3 separate regions of the Homo sapiens genome follow, and all the other regions are linked to region 1. The links are contacts of gene promoters, found by promoter capture Hi-C in human tissues and cell types (Jung and others, 2019). All regions are on one chromosome and are shown on one strand. The core of a region is centred on a gene start or on the middle of the fragment in contact, and the rest is flanking DNA. Distances in the headings are between cores, read along the strand shown. Region 1 holds the start of GPR6 (G protein-coupled receptor 6). Region 2 overlaps FIG4 (FIG4 phosphoinositide 5-phosphatase). Region 3 overlaps AK9 (adenylate kinase 9).

Region 1 (4,179 bases), core at 79-2,578:
GAAAGAGAATAAGAAGACTAATATTCGTATCTTACTGACAAAACAAAACACCTTTAAAACAAAAGGATGATTTATCTGGGCTGAAAATAAAACTCCTGCCTACTGAAGTCTGGTGCAGCTGAGTTATCACGATTTTCGTCCTGTAATTTGTTTTATAGGGTACTAATTAACAGGGCAAAGTCTGAAGCCAAGAAAGTAAATCACATTTTGCTGTTTTCCTTTTCTCTAGCAAGATGCAGACCTGGTCTTTAATTAAAGCGCAAGTTCCAAGGGCGATATCAGCTACCGAAATCGGGAAAACATGGGCCGAAAAGGTCACAGTGAAACCTGCTGTGTAGAGTTCAGAAAAGATAATGGGAAAGAGAGGAATTGCACAGGCAACCTCCAAAAGAAGAGATTGTTTTCCTCAGATGTCCCTGTCTTATCCATCTTTTAACTGCTCCCCATAACTCAGAATTTCTTCCCTGACTCTACTCAACTGAGCATGTACCACAAACATCCTTTTTAAAAATTGGATTTCAGGCCTGGTGAGGTGGCTCACACCTGTAATAACAGCACTTTGGGAGGCCGAGGCGGGTGGATCACACGAGGTCAGGAGTTCGAGACCAGCCTGACCAACATGGCGAAACCCCATCTCTACAAAAATTAGCTGGGCGTGGTGGCGTACATCTGTAATTCCAGCTACTGGGGAGGCTGAGGCAGGAGAATCGCTAGAACCCAGGAGACAGAGGTTGCAGTGGGCCGAGATCGGGCGACTACACTCCAGCCTGGGCGACAGAGTGAGACTCTGTCTCAATAAATAAATAAATAAAATTTTTAAAAAGTGAATTTCTTTTCCCAGATAATTCCTGTTTCGGGAACGGCATTTTTTTTTAAAGGTAGCTACTTTCCCATCAAACACCCCTGTCCCAACCTCCCCCTTCTCCGGGGTTTCTTTTTTGACCTGATCCCTCAGTGATCTTTGACGCTGGGCTTTGCTGCCCGGCAGGTGTCACTCATCCTTCACCCCTCCCCTCCCAGCTCACCCTCTTCGCCGCCTGGTCTCAGGGTCTTCTTCACTCCTTTCTACCTCTCCTTGTCTCTCTCCCATCCCATTCCTGGAAGTTCTGGACTGGAGGTGGTTGCTCTGGCTTCTCCTCCCTCCTAGGACCCTCAGATAGTGTTGGGGGCAGGGGGAGTGCGGCGGGGAGGGCACAGGATGGGCTGGCGAGGAGAGTGAGTGCTGGGCTCGCACCGGGAGCCGGGAGCCTGACGTCACCACGCCCTGCCTGTCAATCTGCAGCGCGCGCCGCTCGCAGCCGCCTTTTCTGCCACCAACTGTATCTCTCACTCGCGGAGCCGGCACAGCGACAGGCGCCCCGCGCTTGCCTCCTCCCCGGCCCGGCCGCCTCCTGCAGGCAGCTGCTCTGTTTGCGCGGGGAGCTCAGCCCGGCGCCCCGCCTCGGCGCCCATGACCAGCGACTTCCAGAAGTCCTGACGCCCCAGGTGAGTGGCCGAGTTCCCAGGGAACTTTGAGGATGTGGGGAGAGGAGGGGAGAAAGATATCCAGGGGACAGGTCTTTCCAGAAGAGGAGAAATGGAGCCAACCTTGACTCCCACCCTCTGCTGCCCCCATACACACACCCTAGTCTCTCCTCCCAGACCCCCTTCGCAGGGGTCTCTGGGCTCCAGGACTCTCCAGGCTTCGCAATGCCAGAAACTTCGCTTTCAGCACCGCGGACAGCGTCTCTGCTGCCCAGCCCCATGGGGATGTCCTGGTCGCGCCGCCACAACCCAGGCGGGACTCTCCCAGGATGACACTCCTAGCTTGGTGCACTCGGGTGCGTGTGCAAATACAGGCAGCCTTGGAGAATTGATCCTTGTGCATGTGAGTGCATGTTGTCCTGGTGTATATCTGCAAAAACTCAGAAGTCCGCGTGGGCATTTCACTCACTCACTCAACAGGTATTTATTTTGGGTTCGCACTTAACCCATGATTCCCCGATTTGCTCTGGGGTCCCAGGGTGGGGTGGGCAACTCAAGTGGGGCAATGCGAGAGGAGGCTCTACGCGTGGGGAAGTTTCCTGGCAGCCTGAAGTGTACACCTGACGCCTGCACTCCCTCCCTATGCAGGGTGCAAATCCGGCCGCGATGAACGCGAGCGCCGCCTCGCTCAACGACTCCCAGGTGGTGGTAGTGGCGGCCGAAGGAGCGGCGGCGGCGGCCACAGCAGCAGGGGGGCCGGACACGGGCGAATGGGGACCCCCTGCTGCGGCGGCTCTAGGAGCCGGCGGCGGAGCTAATGGGTCTCTGGAGCTGTCCTCGCAGCTGTCGGCTGGGCCACCGGGACTCCTGCTGCCAGCGGTGAATCCGTGGGACGTGCTCCTGTGCGTGTCGGGGACAGTGATCGCTGGAGAAAACGCGCTGGTGGTGGCGCTCATCGCGTCCACTCCGGCGCTGCGCACGCCCATGTTCGTGCTGGTAGGCAGCCTGGCCACCGCTGACCTGTTGGCGGGCTGTGGCCTCATCTTGCACTTTGTGTTCCAGTACTTGGTGCCCTCGGAGACTGTGAGTCTGCTCACGGTGGGCTTCCTCGTGGCCTCCTTCGCCGCCTCTGTCAGCAGCCTGCTGGCCATTACGGTGGACCGCTACCTGTCCCTGTATAACGCGCTCACCTATTACTCGCGCCGGACCCTGTTGGGCGTGCACCTCCTGCTTGCCGCCACTTGGACCGTGTCCCTAGGCCTGGGGCTGCTGCCCGTGCTGGGCTGGAACTGCCTGGCAGAGCGCGCCGCCTGCAGCGTGGTGCGCCCGCTGGCGCGCAGCCACGTGGCTCTGCTCTCCGCCGCCTTCTTCATGGTCTTCGGCATCATGCTGCACCTGTACGTGCGCATCTGCCAGGTGGTCTGGCGCCACGCGCACCAGATCGCGCTGCAGCAGCACTGCCTGGCGCCACCCCATCTCGCTGCCACCAGAAAGGGTGTGGGTACACTGGCTGTGGTGCTGGGCACTTTCGGCGCCAGCTGGCTGCCCTTCGCCATCTATTGCGTGGTGGGCAGCCATGAGGACCCGGCGGTCTACACTTACGCCACCCTGCTGCCCGCCACCTACAACTCCATGATCAATCCCATCATCTATGCCTTCCGCAACCAGGAGATCCAGCGCGCCCTGTGGCTCCTGCTCTGTGGCTGTTTCCAGTCCAAAGTGCCCTTTCGTTCCAGGTCTCCCAGCGAGGTCTGAAGGGCTCGCCCCGTGTCCTCTCACCAACACCACACCCCAACAAGCCAGCCTTTGGTAAGCTCGGTGCCTGCTGACGAACTCTGAGATCCCAATGGTGTGAGTCTGACTTTGGAAAGAAAAAGGGACTAAAGAGAAATGTAACAAACTTACAAGGACAAAGAGGCTTGTTGGCACTTTACATATACAGTGTATACATGTGTACATATATATACAAATATTTGTATCTTCTGGAGGTGTTCAGGATGTGGAGCTTCCTATTCTGTGAAAAACCAAGAAAAAGATATGGTTGTATACTCAAATTGTACATCACGTTTGTCAAACGAAGACATTCCAATACTGCTTAATTATAGCACTTTATTTTTAGCTGCTGAACTGCCAAAACAGTGTTGCCATTTTCAAGGGCAGGGAAAAGGGAGTAAAAGGTGTATTTTTGTCGTATGTGATAGAATATTTTGCTGCACATGCATCAACAAATTACAACATGTTTTGTACACGAATAAACCCATTACAAGAATGTAATTTGGGGTATGTCACTGACTATAGAATTACAATTAGCTGAATTGTAAGTGTATGAGTGTCTTTCTTTCCTTTCTTTCTTCCTTTCTTTCTTTCTTGCTTGCTTGCTTTCTCTTGCTTTCTTTCTTTCTCTTTCGTTTGTTCGAGATAGAGTCTCACTCTGTCGCCCAGGCCTGAATGCAGTGGCACAATCATAGCTCAGTGCAGCCTTGAACTCCTGGGCCCAAGAAATCCTGCTTTAGCATCCCTAGTAGCTGGGACTACAGGCATGCCACAGCACTCACCTTACTTTATTTATTTTTTTAAGTTTTTAAAATTTCAGTAGTTTTGAGGGTACAGGTGCCTTTTTTGGTTACATAGATGAGTTCTTTAGTAGTGAATTCTGAGATTTTAGTGCACCTGTCACCTGAGCAGTGTACACTGTACCTGATATGTAATCTTTTA
Region 2 (4,287 bases), core at 299-2,798, 260 kb before region 1:
TCCTGAAATATGTTTTCCAAGTTGGTTCCATTCTCTTTCTGGTATACCAGTGAGTCGTAGAGTCAGTCTCTTTACATAATCCCACATTACTCAGAGGGTTTGTTCATACCTTTTCATTCTTTTTTTTTCTCTATTCTTGTCTTATTTCAGAAAGCCAGTCTTCAAGCTCTGAGATTCTTTCCTCCGCTTGGTCTGTTCTGCTATTAGTACTTGTGATTACATTATGAAATTCTTGTAGTATGTTTTTCAGTTCTATCAGGTCAGAAATGTTCTCTATGCTGGCTATTTTGTCTGTCATGTTTTATCATGATTTTTAGCTTCCTTGGATTGGGTTTCAACATATTCCTGTAGCTCAATGAACTTCATTTCTATTCCTATTCTGAATTCTATTTCTGTCATGTCAGCCATCTCAGCCAGGTTCAGAACCCTTGCTGGAGAAAAGTGCAGTTGTTTTGGAGGAAAAAAGGCACTTCTGGCTTTTTGAGTTGTCAGAGTTCTTGCACTGGTTCTTTCTCATCTTTGTGGGCTAATGTTTCTTCAATCTTTGAAGCTGTTGACCTTTATATGGCCTTTTTTTCTTTTATCCTATTTGATGACCTTAAGGGTTCGATTGTGGGATCAGGTGGATTCAGTCGACAGGTATTGTTTCTGGAAGATTATAGGGGGCCAACGTTCAGCTGCCAACTCCTGGACTGTGTGCTCTAACTCTGGAATACTCGTATTGGGCTCTGACTTTGTTCTCTGGCTCCTCGAGGTTAGGTATCCGATGCGCTGAGGGTGCCAACGTGTAGTGACTGCTGGTCACTATGCTTTGATGGGTGGTGTCAGCCAAAGCATTTCATGGTGCGGTGGCGGTGGGATATGTCCTCATTCGCATGTGCCAGTGGCAGCGAAAGCATGGTGGCTGCAGCAGGATGCCAGCAGGTGCCTGCCTCCATGTGGGCATTCACAGCAGCAGCAGAGGCAGCATGGCTGAGGGGGCGGGGGAGGCCCTGCTGGTGACTGTGCATGCAGTCATCATGGTGATCCTGTTAGCACAGGGGCAGGGCACTGGTAGGTGCAGGTCTATATACACTCTCTGTGTGCTGCAGGCAGTGGTGGTCACTGAGGGCTGGGGAAGGTCCACTGGCCTCTGTGCATAGTTTCATTCCCATGGCAGCATTGGCACAGGGGTGGGATGAGGACGGGGCAGGCTGGCTCTGTGCCCACCAAGGCTCCAGCTGCAATGGCAGTGCAGCTGAAGGAGGGAGGTGGATTGCACCCCCAACTGCAGCAGTGGCAGGACAGGGTACATGCGCACACGTGCACTGGTAGGGCAAGGAAGACAAAACCCACCTGCGCACACACATGTTGGCAGAGTGATGTTGGAAGTGGCAGTGAGCCTGCGGGAAGCTGCAGTGGAGGGAGGGAGAGGGTGGGCTGCTGGGTGGCCATGGGGGCCACCCCACTAGAGCTCTTCACCAATCAGGTGCCAGTCCACCAGCACAGGGTCTCTGATGCAGGCCCCCAGGACACCTAAGGCTTCCCTGCAAGCAGGGCTGGGGCCCTGGGAGAGAGGTCAGCAGACCAAGGGGTGCTCAGGTTGACTGTCCAGTCTGATGGGCAAGAGCGCCCTGCAGAGTTCAGGTCCGACAGTTCCCCTAGGGCTAAAGTCTCCTATGGGAACAAGTCAACCCTAGGGGGATGAGTGTCCCTGGCTGTGCTCCACTACAAACGCTCCCATACCAAACCCTCTGGGCTCTGCATAAGCCAGCGTGTTGCCCCTACCACTTCTCTGAGCAGCTCTTCCTGCCAACTCGAGTGTCTGTGATGGTCAGGGAGTCTCCTTCTGTCAGGATTCCAGAGGCCTTGGCGAGAGTAAGTTTCTCCTTACCAGTTCAACTCACCCATTCCCCCAGAGTCACTGGGGGCCAGGAATGAATGCCAGTGCATGGTAGTCCCATGCAGGGTTCCCAGCTTCTTCCCTCTTCAGCCCAGCTTCTGTGTCTTCCCTCCACCACTCTCAGTGCCTTCCCTCTGAAGATCTGTTAGGAGTGCTCCAGTTGTCCTGGTCCCTTGGTGGCAGCTGTTCCGCCTGGCTGCCTCTAGTCAGCCATCTTGCCCAGCACCCCTTCAGTATTTATTTAATAAGACTAATGTGATTGTGTTTAGTCAGAACGCTCCAAGGAACTGTTTTAGGAAAGAAAGAATGATGATAATTTCTTGTAGCTTATCTATAAAAGGTCATTTGGGAAGGACAACCATTTTAATCATTTATGGGACTTTTGGGTAGATTTTATAGTTACTATATTAAAGACATTTGCAGACATTTATGAAAATTTGTAAGTAGTTTTTTGATAAGCTGTCAGTACTTTAGTAGCTATAATTGCCTAAGCGTTCCTAATTATATGTTGAGCTTTAGAATTTTTACCAGAGCTTCTTCCTGGTAAAGCTTAAACATCAGCCTCCAATCAGTTAGATTAATCTCTAAATTTATGACAATTAAATTCATCTGACCTGGTTACTGGGCACATTTCAGACATCAGACTGATCTTTATCATGAAACCACTAGGAATATTTTAATTTTAAAATTGACCTTTTGGAGTCAGCTTTTCTTTAATCTGCCAGTTATACATAACAGAAATATTTCTTTAAAAAGTAACCTGACTTTATTAATGTATTTAATTTCAAAAACTAAAGTGGTATAAAATGTGTATAGGGCAAAATGCTTTGATAAACTAATGACATTCCTTTTTATTTATAGAGATACTTTCTAGTTGGGAGCAATAATGCAGAAACGAAATATCGTGTCTTGAAGATTGATAGAACAGAACCAAAAGATTTGGTCATAATTGATGACAGGGTAAGTATCCTCCAAACCTGACTGCAAAAAAACTTTCATACCTGTTGTTTAAAGGACATGAAATATCCTTACAGTTTTTAGTGATATATTATTTTTATCATAAATCTAAAAGTTTCCGTTATTTTTCTTGGTTGGCTAGAATTTGAATCTCCAATCTGATTTCTAGAAATCACTGGTGTCAAGAAGTACGCCAGAATTATACTTTGCCCCTCGTTTTGACTTGTTTTCGAAAACACACTCTTAGGATAAGATAATGAGTATTGTTTCTTAAAGAGGGCTGACATTTTAAGGATTCAGTGTAACTTAATATTGTATCTGCCAAAGAGACGATCTGTTATGGTTCTTTAATATCAAGCTACTTGAAGTCAGGGAGGACTTCTATGCTACAGACTTTATTTTCCTCCTAAAAATCACCTCTAGGACCTTTACTGATGATTTGCTATACACTAAGGAAATGTTAAGCTGTTCTTATCCAGAGTTAGATTATCCAGAGTCAAGAATACAGAGGCTGGAATTCAGATGGCACAAAAACCTGAAGCTGTTAGTCAAAAGTGAAATACTATATGGTGGTTTGAACAGTTAAGTTTAACTGTTCACACAAAAGAACTCAAGTTATCTTTTGTGTTGAAATTCCTGTCTGTGACTATTTCGGAATCCATAAAGATTCCTGGTTTCTCAAATATGTAGTAACTACAGTTTGGAATCCATTTTCACTAAGCTACTTGTAACAAAACTATTTTCTGTGTTGTAATAATTTTAGATAAATTCTTTGTTACGATTTCCCATGCTACTCCTGGGGTCCATTCTGCTCCCCACCTATCTGAGCATTTTTAACAATATAATGTAATGGTTCTTGGCTTTATTTGGAGATCGGAGCAATTGGTCAGAGAGCCCTTTGAAATGTTAAGAAAATCTATGGGCCTTCTCGTTAAAGATGCACATTTACTCAAAATTTTGCACATAGTTTTAAGGGATTCATGGACTCTTGAAATTTACCTGTAGATCCCTTAAATCTCTGCATCTCTGGTTTAGAGTATAAGGTTTGGACATTTTTTTTAGTATAGCAGCATGATCCAATAACCAACCTTAATTGCTAATGTTAAAGAACTTGTTAGCTTTTTAAAATTGTAGCTTACTTGTGTACTATTATATACTTCTGTATGAAATAGCTGATGATGCTTGTAGGTAACTTTTTAACTTTCAGGCACAAATAATAAATAATCTAAAGTTTAAGCACAACCTTACAGAGTAAATGTGCTTATTCTTAGCATGTCTATACTCAACAAGAAGTAAGGGAACTTCTTGGCCGCTTGGATCTTGGAAATAGAACAAAGATGGGACAGAAAGGATCCTCGGGCTTATTTCGAGCGGTTTCAGCTTTTGGTGTTGTGGGTAAGAAATCTGCCCCCCTTCTTACAATCTCTTGTTTTTTGTTTTTGTCTTCT
Region 3 (4,134 bases), core at 1,432-3,931, 360 kb before region 1:
GTGAAGTTTTTAAATTTTCTAGTGGGTGTGAAGAAGTATCTCATTGTAGATTAAATTTACAGTTCCTGAATCATGAATACTTTTGAACTTCTTTATATATGCTTATTCACTTATTTTTTTCTCTTTAAGCATATGTTCAGCTTTTGCCTAAAATTGTGTTAGAATAATTTCTATGTTCTGGATATAACTTGTCAGGTAGATAATAGATTTAATACAGAATATTGGGATCTTAAAAATAGGATTCTATGTGTCTTTAATTAATATTTACAGATCCCTATATTCCCATTCTGCTTTTCTTTTGGTAGGCTTACACTGTTTTATTCCATGCCAATAAATCTTCATCCACATCTTCAGTTTTTAGTACATGCATAGTATTGCATCAGATGAATATGTTACAACTTACTTAACTAAAATATGAATACATATGTATGGTATACTATATACACATAATAGTATACACATATACACCATATACTATATATACTATTCATACATATACATATACACCATATACTATATATACTATTCATATATATACATATACAAACATATACATATATATGTATATACTTGCTGATAAGAGCATAACCATTAGGCATAGGAATTGGAAATACATATGCAAGCCTAAATTCCATGCATATCCTTTGAACTGTCAATTCTGTTTTATGGATTTTTCTTAAAAAACTGTCAAAGATCTACAATGAACTCAAACAAATTTACAAGAAAAAAACAAACAACCCCATCAAAAAGTGGGTGAAGGACATGAACAGACACTTCTCAAAAGAAGACATTTATGCAGCCAAAAAACACATGAAAAAATGCTCATCATCACTGGCCATCAGAGAAATGCAAATCAAAACCATTATGAGATATCATCTCACACCAGTTAGAATGGCAATCATTAAAAAGTCAGGAAACAACAGGTGCTGGAGAGGATGTGGAGAAATAGGAACACTTTTACACTGTTGGTGGGACTGTAAACTAGTTCAACCATTGTGGAAGTCAGTGTGGCGATTCCTCAGGGATCTAGAACTAGAAATACCATTTGACCCAGCCATCCCATTACTGGGTATATACCCAAATGACTATAAATCATGCTGCTATAAAGACACATGCACACGTATGTTTATTGCGGCATTATTCACAATAGCAAAGACTTGGAACCAACCCAAATGTCCAACAATGATAGACTGGATTAAGAAAATGTGGCACATATACACCATGGAATACTATGCAGCCATAAAAAATGATGAGTTCATGTCCTTTGTAGGGACATGGATGAAATTGGAAACCATCATTCTCAGTAAACTATTGCAAGAACAAAAAACCAAACACCGCATATTCTCACTCATAGGTGGGAATTGAACAATGAGATCACATGGACACAGGAAGGGGAATATCACACTCTGGGGACTGTGGTGGGGAGGGGGGATGGGGGAGGGATAGCATTGGGAGATATACCTAATGCTAGATGATGAGTTAGTGGGTGCAGCGCACCAGCATGGCACATGTATACATATGTAACTAACCTGCACAATGTGCACATGTACCCTAAAACTTAAAGTATAATTAAAAAAAAAAAAAAAAAAACAAAAAAAAAACAGAAAGAGAAATTCCAGAGCAAAAAAAACAAAAAAAAAAACAAAAAAAACTGTCAAAGATATGTTCATAATTTTGTTCATCATAGCCTAGTTTATAGTTGCAAAAATGTATATATCAAAATATAGATAATACATGTGTATTATATATTATCTATATATGTGTATTATATATTGTATATATTTTATACATTATATATAATACACATATTGTATATATTTTATACATTATATAATATACATTTTTATATATTTTATACATTATATATAATATACATATTGTATATATTTTAGACATTATATATAATATACATATTATATTATATATTATGTACATATACATTCCTATAAGAAAAAGAATCAGGAGTCTCCATATGTATACATACACATACATGTACATATATGTATATGTATATACTATAGTCATATATATAGTATATATAGCATACTATATCGTATAGTATACTATGTATATAATAATATGTAATATATATTTGTATAATAGTATACTATAGTATATTATACATCAATGTATAATATAATATTAATATAATATATATTAATATAGTGTTAATATTATATTACTATTATAAATCAGGATAATACAATAATATATTAATATTAAATTGCATATTATATTGTATATTAATATAATATATGCATAGTATGCTATATATGTATATATGTGTATTATAGACATAAAATATATGTATATAATATATAATGTGTATTATAGACATAATGTATACATATATGATATATGATAATATGTATAAAATGTAGATAATATATAACACACATATTATATATTATCTATATTTTGGTATATACATTTTTGGTACATAAACTAGGCTATGATGAACACAATTATCTACATATCTTTGATAGTTTCTTTAGAAAAATCCATAAAACAGAATTGGCAGTTCAAAGGATATGCATGGACTTTAGGTTTGCATATGTATTTCCAATTTCTATGCCTAATGGTTATACTCTTACTAGCAGTCTATGAGAATGTACTTCTCCCATCCTAGGTACACATCGAAATTAGGTGTTTTTAGTAATCTTTTAACTGTTACAATGAGATTGATATGACAAGTCTCTGTTTTTTGGCATCTCTCTATCAGGGAGGTGGTATCCTTTTGCTAATGTTTAATGGCTATTTGTATCTATTATTCTGTGAATTGCCTGTTTGATTTTTTTTTCCTATTGAAGCTTTATCTGCATATTGATTTGTCTTTTTATATTTTAAAATGATAATTCCTTTATCTGACACATATTATGATGTGATGGGTTTAAAATAAGTCCACAAATCTTTTGACACACCTCCCTTCAGAAGGTGGAGCCTAATTCTCCTCTTTAGTGTAACTAGAACTTAGTAGTGACTTGCTTTAAATAGAGTACGATGCAAGTGATAGTGGATGACTTTTAAGACTAAGTCATGAAAAACATTATAGCTTCCTCCTTGATTAATTCTTTCTGAGGGTAGTCAGCTGCCAGGTCATGAGGACACATAAGCAGTCCTATGAAGAGATCTACATAGAAAGGAACTGAGGTCTCATTCATGTGATCGAGCCATCTTCCAGCCCCAGCCTAGTGTCAGATGAGTGCAGCCCCAGATGACATCTTACCTGTAACCTCATGAAAGCATTTAGGACAGAACCATGTAGCTAAGCCACTCCTGAATTCCTGACTCAGAGAGACTATGCAAGATCATAAACGCTTATTGTTGTTTCAAGCTGTTAGGGTAATTTTTTATGCAGTAATAAATGAGAAACACACACATGGCAAATATATACTCAGTATTTTCCTCTGTATGCTGTCAAAAGTTTTACTTTCCTTTTAATTTTTTTCCTTTTTCCTTCTAATTTACACTTTAAATAATCTGAAATTACCTGGATAAAACTTTTTCTTCCCCAAATGATGAACTAGTTAGGAATCTTAGACACACACACACACACACACACACACACACACACACACACACATTTCTTCTCCCACATCCCTCCGTAAGCCCCCAAGAATTAGATAATACATTTTAAAAAAATAATATGCATTATTCATGTTATTATGCTTATGGAACAATTACTCACAATTACGTAGAACATGTTCATATTTCTGTTCCTGCAGGTTTTTTTTTTGTGGGGGTTGCTTAGTTTTCTATATACCTATCAATAATGAATTCCCAAACTCTTCTTCACAAGTATAAATTTCTGCTTGAAAATACATCAGGTAATCATCTCCCTGGAGCTATCTCTTCTGGACCCCTCTGTTCTCCTACCCCAAACTGGATTGGTTATTTTCTAGGCTTCCAGGCCTGCAGAACAACTGACATCATGGGCTCTCCTTCCCCCACCATCTTGGGATTTCCTAACCCTCTTCCTTGTCAGGGATGCATAGATGCCCTTTTGCTTCTGGATCCCATGTCACCATCTTGGTTTAGGCCCCCATTTTGATGCACTACATCCTCTAGTAGCTTCTGACAAAGAATACATGAGAGGCAATTTTTTGTGTGTGTGACTGAAAATGCCCTCATTCT

The links. The method cuts DNA at HindIII sites, captures the fragments that hold promoters and counts their contacts. A contact is called where the count stands out against the background at its distance.
Region 2: a contact is called between a fragment that was not itself captured here and the fragment with the promoter of GPR6 in region 1, in 2 of the 25 tissues and cell types used here (H1 embryonic stem cells and dorsolateral prefrontal cortex).
Region 3: a contact is called between a fragment that was not itself captured here and the fragment with the promoter of GPR6 in region 1, in 1 of the 25 tissues and cell types used here (spleen).

The regions. Positions count from the first base shown.
Region 1 is chr6:109,976,983-109,981,161 of GRCh38, forward strand. It overlaps GPR6 (G protein-coupled receptor 6), which reads left to right and starts at 1,329. Exons shown (of 2, transcript NM_005284.5): 1 at 1,329-1,485; 2 at 2,113-3,738. The coding sequence starts at 2,131. The coding sequence ends at 3,219. RefSeq lists a silencer at 1,658-1,821 and an enhancer at 1,760-2,565. The HindIII fragment of the contact is 14,463 bases long and covers 1-4,179 here.
Region 2 is chr6:109,712,335-109,716,621 of GRCh38, forward strand. FIG4 (FIG4 phosphoinositide 5-phosphatase) reads left to right here. Exons shown (of 23, transcript NM_014845.6): 2 at 2,744-2,842; 3 at 4,111-4,234. Among named protein-coding and RNA genes, the nearest start is that of FIG4, 23 kb to the left of the region's middle. The HindIII fragment of the contact is 5,896 bases long and covers 1-4,287 here.
Region 3 is chr6:109,620,323-109,624,456 of GRCh38, forward strand. All of the region lies in intron 12 of AK9 (adenylate kinase 9), which reads right to left. Among named protein-coding and RNA genes, the nearest start is that of AK9, 69 kb to the right of the region's middle. The HindIII fragment of the contact is 3,752 bases long and covers 806-4,134 here.